Regions from separate parts of the Homo sapiens genome. Here region 2 is linked to region 1. Evidence: promoter capture Hi-C in 16 types of primary human blood cells and fetal thymus (Javierre and others, 2016). All regions are on one chromosome and are shown on one strand. Each heading gives the region's core, a stretch centred on a gene start or on the middle of the fragment in contact. The rest is flanking DNA. Distances are from core to core; before and after follow the strand shown.

Evidence for each region. The method cuts DNA at HindIII sites, captures the fragments that hold promoters and counts their contacts. A CHiCAGO score of 5 or more calls a contact.
Region 2: a fragment that was not itself captured here is called in contact with the fragment with the promoter of TASP1 in region 1 in 1 of 17 cell types (activated CD4 T cells); the score reaches 5.7 in activated CD4 T cells.

What each region holds. Positions count from the first base shown.
Region 1 is chr20:13,636,893-13,643,360 of GRCh38, forward strand. It overlaps TASP1 (taspase 1), which reads right to left and starts at 2,040. Exons shown (of 14, transcript NM_017714.3): 1 at 2,002-2,040. RefSeq lists enhancers at 1,397-1,897, 1,511-1,600 and a silencer at 1,791-1,940. The HindIII fragment of the contact is 10,129 bases long and covers 1-3,163 here.
Region 2 is chr20:13,103,695-13,109,721 of GRCh38, forward strand. All of the region lies in intron 6 of SPTLC3 (serine palmitoyltransferase long chain base subunit 3), which reads left to right. It also overlaps a transcript of TASP1 not described here. Among named protein-coding and RNA genes, the nearest start is that of SPTLC3, 98 kb to the left of the region's middle. The HindIII fragment of the contact is 1,919 bases long and covers 1,819-3,737 here.

The sequences.
Region 1 (6,468 bases), core at 790-3,289:
TTGACAAGTCTTTGAAAAAAAAATTCTAAGTAGATAAAGGACACCATTCAAGAAAGTAAAAGGACAACCCATAAAATGGGAGAAAACGCAAGAAAATATTGCAAATCATGTATCTGGAAAGGGACTTACATTTAGAATATAGAAAGAACTCATACAACTTTAATATAAGACAATTCAATTTAAAAATGGGCAAAGGAATTAAATGGACATTTCTCCAAAGATATACAAAGGGTCAATAAGCACATTAAAAGATGCTCAACATTATTAGCCATCAGGGAAATGCAAATCAACACTACAATGAGCTACCACTTTATAAGCACTAAGACTGCTATAACCAAAAAGAAAGATAAGTGCTCCCAAGGATATGAAAAAATCAGAACCCTTATAACCTGCTGGTGGGAATGTAAAATGGTGCAACCAGTTTGGAAAACATTTGGCACTCACTCAAAAAGTTAAACATAGAGTTACCATATGCCCACCAATTCCACTTCTAGGTATATACTCAAGAGAACTGAAAACGTATGTCCATACAAAAACTTGTACACAGATGTTTATAGCAGAATTATTCAAAATAGCCAAAAAGTAGAAACAACCTAAATGTCCATCGACCGATGATGGTTAAGCAAAATGTGGCATATTCACACAATGGAACATTACCCATCCATAAAACAGAATGAAATACTGATACACAGACATTGATGAACCTTGAAAACATACTAACTGAAAGACACCAGACAAGTGAGGCCATATATTCTATGATTCCATTTATATGAAATGCCAGTATAGGAAAATCCATAGATACAGAAAGTAGATTAGTGGTTACAAGGCCTGGGAGAGAAAGCAGAGAATCTAATGGGGAGTGACTGTCATGAGTATAGGATTTCTTTTGGGGGTGATGAAAATGTTCTGAAAGTAGATAGTGGTGATGGGTGCACAACTTTGCGATATGAGAAAAAGCACTGAAATTTACAATTTTAAAGAATAAATTTTATGGTGCATGAATACCTTAATAAGACTTTCTCAAGAGGAAAAAAGACAATCTATCCGTGCAATGAACACAATGTATGTAACTATGCCTCTTAGTTATAACCGTATTTTACACGCATACATTATGATCACAAATAGGTTAATATGAATAAAATATTAGAAAAAAGATCAAAATGCTGGGTTGGCAGAACTATAGGTGATCTCTTCATAACTATTTCTGCATTTTCCAGATGTTCCTTAGTAAGCACTGCTTTTTGTAAGTGGTGGGGAAAAGTTTTATTTACAACAAAAAAGATAAATTATTAAACTCCTAAGAATATAAGTAAAAATTCCTTCGCTAATAAAGAATAATAATAATTCAGCAATCTAATGGCCCCTAACACACCTTTCCTTCCCCTCCCCTACAGAAGCCAGGAAAGTTGAACTCTCTCCTTCCGGAAACACGATACCCTCGATTTCCAGGACATCTCTAGCTCCTGCTTTCCCCCCCTCCTCTCCAGCTGCTCCATCTTCTCGGTCCTTTCCTCCTCCTCTTCTTCCTCCTCCTCCTCCCCCTGAGTAGTAAGTGCTAACGACCCGCAGGACTCTCATCAGGCCTCTATTACTAAGTAAGGGGCTGCCTTACCCCCAACCCGCCACCCAGGACAAGGCGCACATTCTCGGCTGTCTGCGAACCTCGGACTCTGAGACATCTCCAGCCTGAGACTGCAAAGTGGGTGAAGAACTGCGAGAACTCCCCACATACAGACAGTACTTCCCCGGTGGCCACGAGGACGCCAAGCCGGAGATGAGGCTGGGAAGGGGGACGACGGGGCCGCCTAGAGCGACCAAGACTAGGGAACTAGGGACATCCTGGCCCCCTCCTCTAGCCCCGCCCGGGGCAAGGGGTGTCCTGCGCGCCGCCCCCTCTCGGACCCGGAGAGGACGTCCCAGCTAGCGTACGGGGCCCACACACAGAGGCAGCAGCGCGGAGGCGGCAGCGGCGCGGACAGCGTGGGAAAGAGGGACACTCACCCGCTTCAGCCCCGAGCCTTCACTGCACCGGAAGTAGTCACCCGCCCGTTGCCAGGGTGAGGAAGCGGGGCTGACATCAAGTCTCCCCATTGGTCATTCGGGGTACCACGTGGTCGGAAGCAGCCTCCCACAAGCGGCTCTGACTCCGCCCTCCGCTTCGGAGCGGCTCACCTGGCCTCAGAGGTGCAGCGCTAACTCCACCTGGGGCTTCGTTCTGAGCTGCGCATGCGCTATTGCTTATCTCTACCCACCCCGCCCCTGAATAAGCCCGCAGGATGTGATTATATCTGAGTGGTTGATTGACTAATACTGTGATGAGAAATGAAATTAAACTGACCATCATTTTATCTAGGTGTCGCTTAAGAGTTACTTTCTTTCAATCCTTAGAGCACTGTTAGACGGTAGGGAAAACTAAGGTTCAGCCTGCATTGCTTGTAGGAGTTGGGGCACGAGCCTTGCCCAGGGGGAAGGAGTGTAGGCGGTCTTTTATCGGCTAGGATGTAAGACCGAAACCCAGTCATGGGTTTTGATGACCCATGACTGATGGATTTTCCTTATACTTCCACCAAAACATCACGTCGAACTGAATGTAAAGGCAGAAATGAGAATCTAACTGGCTTCTTTAAGCCAGCTATAGAGGAATTTACACTAATGCAAAAGATAACACTTTTCTTACCACATTTTTTTGTTTTTGGAAAATATTTATTCTTCATTAAAATGTCTTAATTATATTAACACATAATGGTTTATTATTGTTATTTTAAATAACTTTTTAACATTTCAGTTTTTTGTTGGTTTTTTTCTTTTTTTTTTGGAGATGGAGTTTCACTCTGTCAACCAGGCTGGAGTGCAATGGCACGATCTCGGCTCACTGCAACCTCTGCCTCCCGGGCTCAAGCGATTCTCCTGCCTCAGACTCCTGAGTAGCTGGGATTACAGGCGCTCGATACACACCCGACTAATTTTTTGTATTTTTAGTAGAGACGGGTTTTCACCATGTTTGCCATGCTGGTCTCGAACTCCTGACCTCAGGTGATCCTACTGCCTTGGCCTCCCAAAGTTCTGGGATTACTGGCGTGAGCCACCGCACCCAGCCACATTTCAGCTTTGTATTCAATTTTTAATATAGTAAATATTAATAGATGTAACCCACAGAAACAAAAGCTTTGGAGTGTTCTCTACTATTTTGGGGAGTATAAAGGTATGCTGAAACCAAAAAGTTCGAGAACCACTGATACCATTATTATAAATATAACCTATGTGGTTTTATTATGTAACTTGGGGCTTTTTTTCTTTCTCTTCTACCACTGACTTCTTAGGGAGGGGCAAGGGGAAGAAGTTTATTACATAGTAAGAATAACAGTTTATTACATAGCAATAGTAACTGAAACCGATTTTGTTACCTAGAAGTAGGATGGATATTATAACAAAACATAACATAATAACATCATAAAAGTAAAACGTGTGGCACTGGCTTTGGAACTAGGTGAAGCAGCAAGAGCAGGAAGGGATCCAAAGTATTAACAAGAGTCTAAAAGGACTTGAGGAAGCTGCCAATGAGGGCTTAAAGGGAGCTAAGGAAGATGTTATTGGAAGCTGGAGAAAATGGGGCCCTTGTTATATAGTGCCAGAAAGTTTGGCCCAGGCATTAGGAAGCAGACATAAACCATCCCCATTGTGACCTTTCTGAATTCCTCACCCGCAGAATCCATCAGCATAATAAAATAGTTGTTCTTTTGCACCTTTAAAGTGGATTTTTACACAGCAATATTAACTGGAACCAGCAGGAATAAAAGAAAGATGTTAAAGTTTTAAAAAGACATAGACATGCTCCCTTCCATTTCTTAGGCAACATTCTTCCTGGAATTTAACTACATTGTAATAATCATCTCCCAGTGCTGCTCTGTATACTTTTGTCTTGGGTATCACACCCAGATGCCACACAGGCCATCCTCTGGTAGGTGAATACTGCTCAAGTAAAAGTAACAAAATTCTTCGGACCCTTTTTTTTATTATTATTATTGAGGCAGAGTCTCACTCTGTTGCCCAGGCTAGAATGCAGTGGTGCGATCTCAGCTCACTGCAACCTCTGCCTCCCCGGTTCAAGTGATTCTCCTGCCTCAGCCTCCCCAGTGGCTGGGATTACAGGTGCCCGTGACCACGCCCGGCTAATTTTTGTCTTTTTAGTAAAGATGGGGTTTTGTCATGCTGGCCAGGCTGGTCTCGAGCTCCTGACCTTAGGTGATCCACCCATCTCGGCCTCCCAAAGTGCTGGGATTACAGGCATGAACCACCATGCCCAGCCCAGACCCAAGTTTTAACATTTTTAACCTGCATTGGGTACAGTAACAATGAGATCCTTTGAAATATTAATAACGAACAGTTGTAATATCTATTTGATTAACTCAACATGTTAAATTTGAAAGGAAAGTCTATACTAGTAAATCTCCTTCAGAAAAAATCTGGTTGCCTCCCTCTTCCTGTTCCCACCTCTCCCAAACCCGGAAAAGCAGCAAGCTGAGGAATTACTTCCTTTATCTCAAATAATCATGTCTGCTGCATCTTGATCTTTGTACTCTAAGTAAGCCCCCTCTGTCCTGGTTCCCTGGGGGTCTCCCTTTGTTTTGTATTCCTGGAAAACTATTGCTTTAACACATGTGTCAGAAATGTAGCAGAACAATAGTGATAGTTTTCAATTGTTGTGCCGCAAGTTAACACCAATTCACCTGCTTAAGACAACACAAATGTAATATTTCCGTTTCTGTGGATCAGGTGTCCAGGTCTCTGCTCAGATCTCAGAAGGCTGAAATCAAGGTGTCAGTCAGAGCTGCCATCTCATCGGATGCCCAGAGCGATTCTCCAAGCTCATTCAGGTGATTGGCAGAATTCAAATCCTTGCAGCTGTAGAGCTGGCCACTTTTGTCTTCTTCAAGGTCAGGAGGAGCAGTCCTCTCTGACTTTTCCACCTTGAAAGGACTCAACTGATTAGGTCAGGTCCCCCAGGATAATCTCTCCTTTGATGAACACAGAGTCAATGATTCGTCGTCAAGTTTCAGGAGGGATGGCCATCATATTCTCAGCTTCCATCCACACTCCAGGGGAGAGGATCATACAGGGTCTGTGCACCAGGGGTAGAAATCTTGCAGGTCATCTTAGAATTTTGCCTACCACGTGGAAAAAAGAAAGTTTCAATTATAGATGGACTGCGACAACCCTTCAAGCAGTCCTATGGTAGACAACAGTTGTTTCGCCTGCCCAGCATGAATTCCTTCTTATTTCTCCTAACAGCACCCCACTTCACTTCCAGGGACTGCCCTTCACCACTTGCACCCAGCGTAAGTGGGACTGTCCATCAGGATGCTCCGTGGGATGATCAACTGACCCATGCTAAGCTAAAGCTGCTTCTTGCCTGGAATTTGAAAATTGACAGCAATAATGCAAAGAGTAAAAGCAGTTGTTTATTCAACCAAGGTTACAGAGTTCCCTGTTACTGCTCCAGAGCTTGTATTTTTCCAAAACCTGCTTCCTTAGTTTTTCTTTCAATTATCTTAGGTACTCCCTATCCTTCCAACAAATTCCTTTTATCTTCTTTAATATATAAAATTTTGAGCAAGACAAATAATCCAGAGATTACTTGACTCCCATGTCAAGCCCTGATGACAACACATTGTCTTCGGAGCCCTGACGAAGACTGGTAAGATGAAAGGTGGCCCACCTGCCATCTCTGGTTTCATCCTTGTTGTCTGTCAATTATCTGGCCAGCTATGTTGTCATCCCCCATTCATAGGGCAATATAAATATTCTTCCTGCACAACAAACTGTCTGACCAGTTTGTGATTTAACACCTTTCTCTGCAATCTCTTAGCTTTTTTATTGTAACATGTAAAGAGTGTCCCCCCATTCTCATAAGCTTGTTATAAACATGAAATACAATTTGCTGAACCAGAACCAGTGTCAGCTTCTCAATCACTTTTTCCTAACCACCTTATTTTAAATTGCAATCACACTACCCTGCCTGTTCTCCTTCCTGTTTTATCTCTATCAGTAGCACACACCCCAACTAATCCTCTACAATTTTCCCCATTCTTTTAGTTTATTAATCATCTCTCCTGTAAAGTCAGTTCCATAAAGATGGGGCTATCTTTATTTATTTTTTATTTTTTATTTTTTTGAGACAGTGTCTTGTTGTAGCACCCAGGCTGGAGTGTAGCGATGCTACCATGGCTCACTGCAGCCTCAAACTCCTGGGATCAAGCCATCCTCCTGCCTAAGTCTCCCAAGTAGCTGGGACTACAGATGTGAGCAACTGCACCCAGCTAGAACAGAGATTTAAAAAGAAAAAAAAACATTTTATTGATGTTAAACATAAATACAGAAAAGTACAGCTTGATGATTCTTCATATAGTAAACACAGTGTGTAACCATTCCTCAGATCAAGTGAAAAAAATCATGACCTCGCCCCAGGGT
Region 2 (6,027 bases), core at 1,528-4,027, 530 kb before region 1:
ATCCATAGGAGAGGGAGCAGGGGCACTGAGAAATGGGCAGTGAGTGAAGATCTCACAGTAGATCTAGGCCTTTGGAAAACCCACAGCTGCACAAGAGAAGAGAAAGGAGGAAGCCCTGATGTATGCAACAGTGTTGCCATTTGACAGTGAAATAAGAGGAAAGCTAAATGTCTGGGTTTTTTCTTCCGGAAGACACACTATGAACTATGCCCTACCTTCTTGGAAGATTCTGGGTCCCTTGCTGCCTTGTGCTTTCTTTTCACAAAACTGCATCTTCAGCTTTTCCAGATCCAGGAGGCTTGCTATTATTAGGGTTTTGAATGTAAGAACAGGCACAGGCTCAGGCTGGCTAAGAGCATTTGTCACCTAAGCCTGATTGTAGCTTTGGACACATAGTTGGATTATTCCAAGTATTTAGTAATTCAGTAATCCAGTTAACTATGCTGGCAAAAGGCTAGGACTGTTTTGCACTAGGCACCAGAACATGGTCTCCACATTTTCATTTCTTATAGCTAGATATTTATAACCATCTGATAGGGTTTGGCTGTGTCCCCACCCAAATCTCATCTTGAATTGTAGCTCCCATAATTCCCATGTGTTGTGAGAGGGACCCAGTGGGAGATAATTGAATTATGGGGGCGGTTCCCCCTATACTGTTCTCGTGGTAGTGAATAAGTCTCACGAGATCTAATGGTGTTATAAAGGTTTTCCCCTTTCACTTGGCTCCCACTCTCTCGTCTGCCATCACGTAAGATGTGCCTTTCCCCTTCCGCCATGATTGTGAGGCTTCCCCAGCCACGTGGAGCTGTAAGTCCATTAAACCTCATTTTCTTTATAAATTACCCAGTCTCAGGTATGTCTTTATCAGTAGCGTGAAAATGGACTAATACACCACCAAACCAGCTCAATCCTTTTAGTCCTCTACAAACCAAAAGAAACCTCCTTAGTGAGTCAAATTTTGTGCTGAGTAACACCAAGGCATTATTAATGCTCAAATAGTGGTCATTTTAAGTCCGTGGTGTGTCATTGTGACTCAAGAACCACACTGTACCATAGCACCGTGTGTGTGTGCCTAGATGGTGTCAAAATTATACTTTTATTTTAATTTCCGTATCTCAGAATTTTCTTATTAAATCAACAAGAACAGGTTTGTTTGGAGGGCTTTTGTTTGGGGAACTTTTTTTAACAAAACTTCTGGCATTGTTTTTTTCATCTGCAAAAAACAAAAACCTAACAGTCCTTCCCTACTTCTCAGAGGTGTCATGGGGATTAACATAATGCAAGTGTAAGTGCCTTAATAAGCATCATTATTTTAAAAAAAATCCCTTGCAGATGTAAGCATGCAGCTTGCTGAAACGGTAGAATCCCATAAGGCCTACAGAACATAAATCACAATCCCTTAAATCTGCGGGTTTGTAACCCACGCACTGTAGCCTTGTAGAACGACAGAGAACCAGAGAGGAACATGCCAGGGGCTAAGGTGGGGCCAGAATCCAGGCCGAGCGCAGTCTTCCCTTTTCCTGTGTAGCTTCTGTGATTCTAAGAGGTCGGAGAGTTCATCCCCTGCAGGAGGAAAAAAAAAATGGCTAATTGATTTTCCTTCTGCTCAAGAATCCTGGTGTGTTGACCCTGGGGGGCTGTGAACTCCACCAAAAGCCACTCCCATGGCTATCTCCATTCAAGTCAAACACAACGAAGTCCCTGACTTGGAAAAGACTGGGATTCCTCTTGCTTCCCTCCGCAAAATGTATAAAACACAGCGCGGCCACCGAAAGTCTTGTTTTCATGTCTTGCGTGTTATTTTTAAAAATGGAGAAAAGCTTCTCTTTAGGACTCGTGGTGTTCATTTTAAAATTCTGGATTAATCCATCGTGTTTATGTGACCTTTTTGGTGCAAAAACAACACAGTGGCCTCTGAATTTACATATTTTTTCCAAATCTTAGAATATTCATTTTAAAATGACTACTAATTTAGTTCACTTGGGTTTAGTTTTTATTCCAGTGTCGTCGGAGCCACATTTACCATCTATCATTTCTGCACAAAAACTTATAAATTCCAAGTCCCAAAGGGAAAACATTCTTAACAGGAATGCTTTTATTCACCATCTCTTTATTCCATTCAGAGGATTTGGTTATAGAAGATGAATAATAGTATAAAATATTATAGACATAATAAATAAAAGATTATAGGAAAGGAAGACTGGTTCTCCAAGTCGCAAGGTTTTCTTCAATATTTTAGGAACTCTGCCTAAAGCAAAAGTGAAAAGAAGATACCCAAATAGGTGAAAGTTTATTAACTGAAAATTTCAAAACAAGAAAGCCGCTTTTTGTTTCCTTGGCTGCCATCTAGTGGTTAATAATGTACGCTAAAACACGCTCTTGGGAACGTTCAAAAAATATCTATCTGCTCGTTTTAAAACAAAACAAAAGATACCATCAATTTTTGAAAATATATTGCAGGTAGGAGATATTTATCTTTTCTAATAATTCTTATTTCTATCCACAAGTGGCATTTCCTTGCCTGTCTCCTAGTCTACGTTCTTTCTCCAGGAAAAGAACATTGATGCAATTATTAGGTAATGATTGAGCCTAGTACTGTGTACTAAGACTAGGGCGAGAAGGATGAGGACGAGGTCCCTGACTTCATGGAAGAGAGACATGAAAGCAAAAAACGAACATCGCGATGAGTGCTTAAAAAATAATAGACAAGTCGGGAGGGACACCAAGGAGGAAGCCCTTAACTCTGTTCTGTATTATTGACGAGAAGAGTTTGGGTTAAGACTTCAGTGATGAGTGAGCATTCTCCAGACAGACAAGAGGAAAAAAAGCATGGAGGAGAATCAGGAGGCTGTGTGTTGGGGGATGTTGACAAACTATGTCAGAAAGACAGGCAGAGGCTATATCAGGAAGGGCCATTCGAGATTGTATTAGGCAACTATTACTGGAACAAACCTCAGTTGCCAATAATAATCAGCAAGTATTTCTCACTGGAGGCTGCAGGTGAGCTGGGGTAACCGTGCCCTACGTGCCATTAATCCTCTCCCAGGGCCAACCTGAGACCAGGGGGCTAGCCTGGGCATTTTCTTTTCCTGTCACTAGCAGAAGCACAAGAGAAAGAGTAGAAATGCATAAGACCTCTTCAGATCTAGGTTTGGAACTAGCAAACTGTCTCTTCTCTGTATTCCGTTAGCCAAAGCAAGTCACTTGGCTGAACCCAAGCCAAGGGGCAGGGAAACGTTCTCCACTGGTGAGAGGAAAGGACTGCAAAGTCACAGAAGAAGGAACTCAAATGAGGTGGAAAATGGGCCAGTAATGTAGTCTGCAGCAAGTTCCATCTTGGAAATGGGTTTGAGGTTCCCATATTTGTCTAAAAAATGGTAAGAAAAACATTATATCGATCAAAGTAGAGGTCTCGCTTTGCGTTATGGGTTCCAGACCCCAGGGATACTGAGCATACAAACGTCTGGGCCCTGACCCACACCAACTGATTCAAAATCTCTGAGTAGAAATTTCGAGAATCTGCATTTTAACTGGTTACCCAGATGATTATTTCTATTCATCCTGAAGGTTGAGAACCACTGGAAGATTAATGAGAAAATAGAAAAAAAAGTCAAGGAGAAAACATAAAAGGAAAATGGGTTAAAAGAGGAAATAGTGCTCACAAAGAATACTAGAAATAGTGGGAAAAGGAATAAGAAAAACTAATGAAAAATGGTGTCCAGATGGCAGAGGGAAGAAGCTTAAAAGATAAGTGTGTGTTGAATTGTGTCAAATGCTGCCCACGGTCAAGTAGAACAAGAACTGAAGAAAGCTCTGTAAATTTGTCAATTAGGTAATATTATGTGAAAAGAACACAATAGTGATGCCAGGATATCAGGAGGCCTGTTTTGCAGATAAAAAGAGAAAAAAACAAAGAAAAGGAAAGTGGCATGAAATAAAACAAAGATCCACCATTCTTCCAATTCTTCTTTCACGGGTCCTTACGATCTTGGTGAAATTGATTAATTCCACATTTAAACTGACAAAGCACCTAAAGAGTTAGTTTCTGGCTAGTGATTAAAGAAAGGAAAGGAAAATGACCTTTTTTTTTTTTTTGTATCTGTTGGTTCTGATAACATGCCAGATATTATTGGTAGCATACAGGTAGCATACTATATCTAATACCTAAGGCTTTATATATTTGAATAAAGAATTATTCCCTTAATTCTTCATTATTTCATTATATATTTCCTTTATTTTTTCATTATTTATGTGATGTTTTCTTAAGGATGTTAAAGGAAGTCAAATAGTGTATTAACACTACTGTTTGGATTTCCAAGAGATCTTGCTAGTATGCAGCATCTTATTCATGTCACATGCTTTTTCTGAATTTCAGGACCCGATACCCAGTCTCTAGTGGGTGGATGCTGAGGACAGCTTGGAAGGTGCCATGCTAACAGGGGCCTCTCAGAGATGAGGTTCTGATATTGCACTATCAAATTCTGACTTGTCCTATCCCACTCCAAGTCATAGGAAGTCACCTTTATTTAAATGTGGTTTGCTTAAATGTACTTGATAATTAAAAAGAAACACACACACACAAATATATTCACAACTCTATTTCAAAGAACTATCTTGTGGCCTCATTGAATGTGGCAGAGTTGCAGTGTGGAAAAGTTAATGCAGCCACTAATGCATTCACTCAGCTTTGGGGGAAGCCCTAAAACAGATCTGAGCACAGACTGGAGACTCAAAGACAAAGTTGAAGGGCTCTCCATTGAGACCAAGAACTGCAGCTAATTTGAGCCTAGACCAGTGAGTGATAAGCCAATGCACATACGCTTCTTGAGAGCTTTGTCTGTAGTGGTCAAAACCAGTACTGACTATGCAGCTTTAGATTTATCTTTTTTTTTCACTTTGAGACAGAGTCTCGTTCTGTCACCCAGGCTGAAGTGCAGTGGTGTGATCTCGGCTCACTGCAACATCCGTCTCCTGGGTTCAAGCAATTCTCCTGTCTCAGCCTCCCAAGTAGCTGGGATTAGAGGTGCCTACCACCATACCCACTTAATTTTTTGTATTTTTAGTAGAGACTGGGTTTCACCATGTTGGTCCCGAACTCCTGACCTCAAAGATTTAGCTTTGCTAGATGTCACCTTTTGTGAGCATTTTAAATGGTGTTTCTAATGCCTGGTGAACATTGCATAACAGTCAAGCCAGCAGTTAAGTAGCATCTCCATCTTTTAAAATTAAGATTGGATTCTGGACCTAAGTATTTCAGTTTCATCTTCTCAAAAAAGGGAAAGCTTAGGAAATGCAAAAAATACACAGTACAAATATAATCAGTCTAAAAAATATGCCCATAAACCTCGGCCATTTTTTTCTTGCTAGGCTTAAATGTTAAAAACAAAATAATACACACACATGTACATATATACCAAACAGCTAGGTTGGTAGGCAAGTTCTTCTAAATGACCTCTCAACCCAAGCCCAGTCATCAACCTCTGATAGCAGATAAATGAATTGTCACTATTGATTATATTTGACATTAGAAGTTAACAAGATTATTCTGCCAGACATTCATCCTCCCTTGTTCTACATCACCATTTCATTTGAGAAGAAGGGACAATGGCTTTCACATAAGGCAGCAAAGGGTAGTGTTACAAATGTGGATTACAGTACAGACTACATGGGTTCAAATCCTGATTCTGTTGCTTATGATAGACCTCAGGCAGTTTACTCAACTCCTCTGTGTCTCAGTTTCCTGAACCACAGAATGGAAATGCTACTAGTACTTCCTCCAGATGGTTCTTATGAGGATTAAATGAGGTATGACAAAAACTGAGCTTAGAAGGGTGCCTGGCACACAGATAGGGCTCAATAACTGTGAGCTATTATTGTGTTCAGAGATCCCCAAATATTTTGAAAAAGAGGCTTAATTGTCCCACTGCTTTAAAGTTTTGAAACTTCTAAGACTGGGGGATGTCAGAAATCAAGGCTCAAAGTGTAGGAAGTGAGATCCGTGCAAACTCAGCTAAACTCTAACATGCT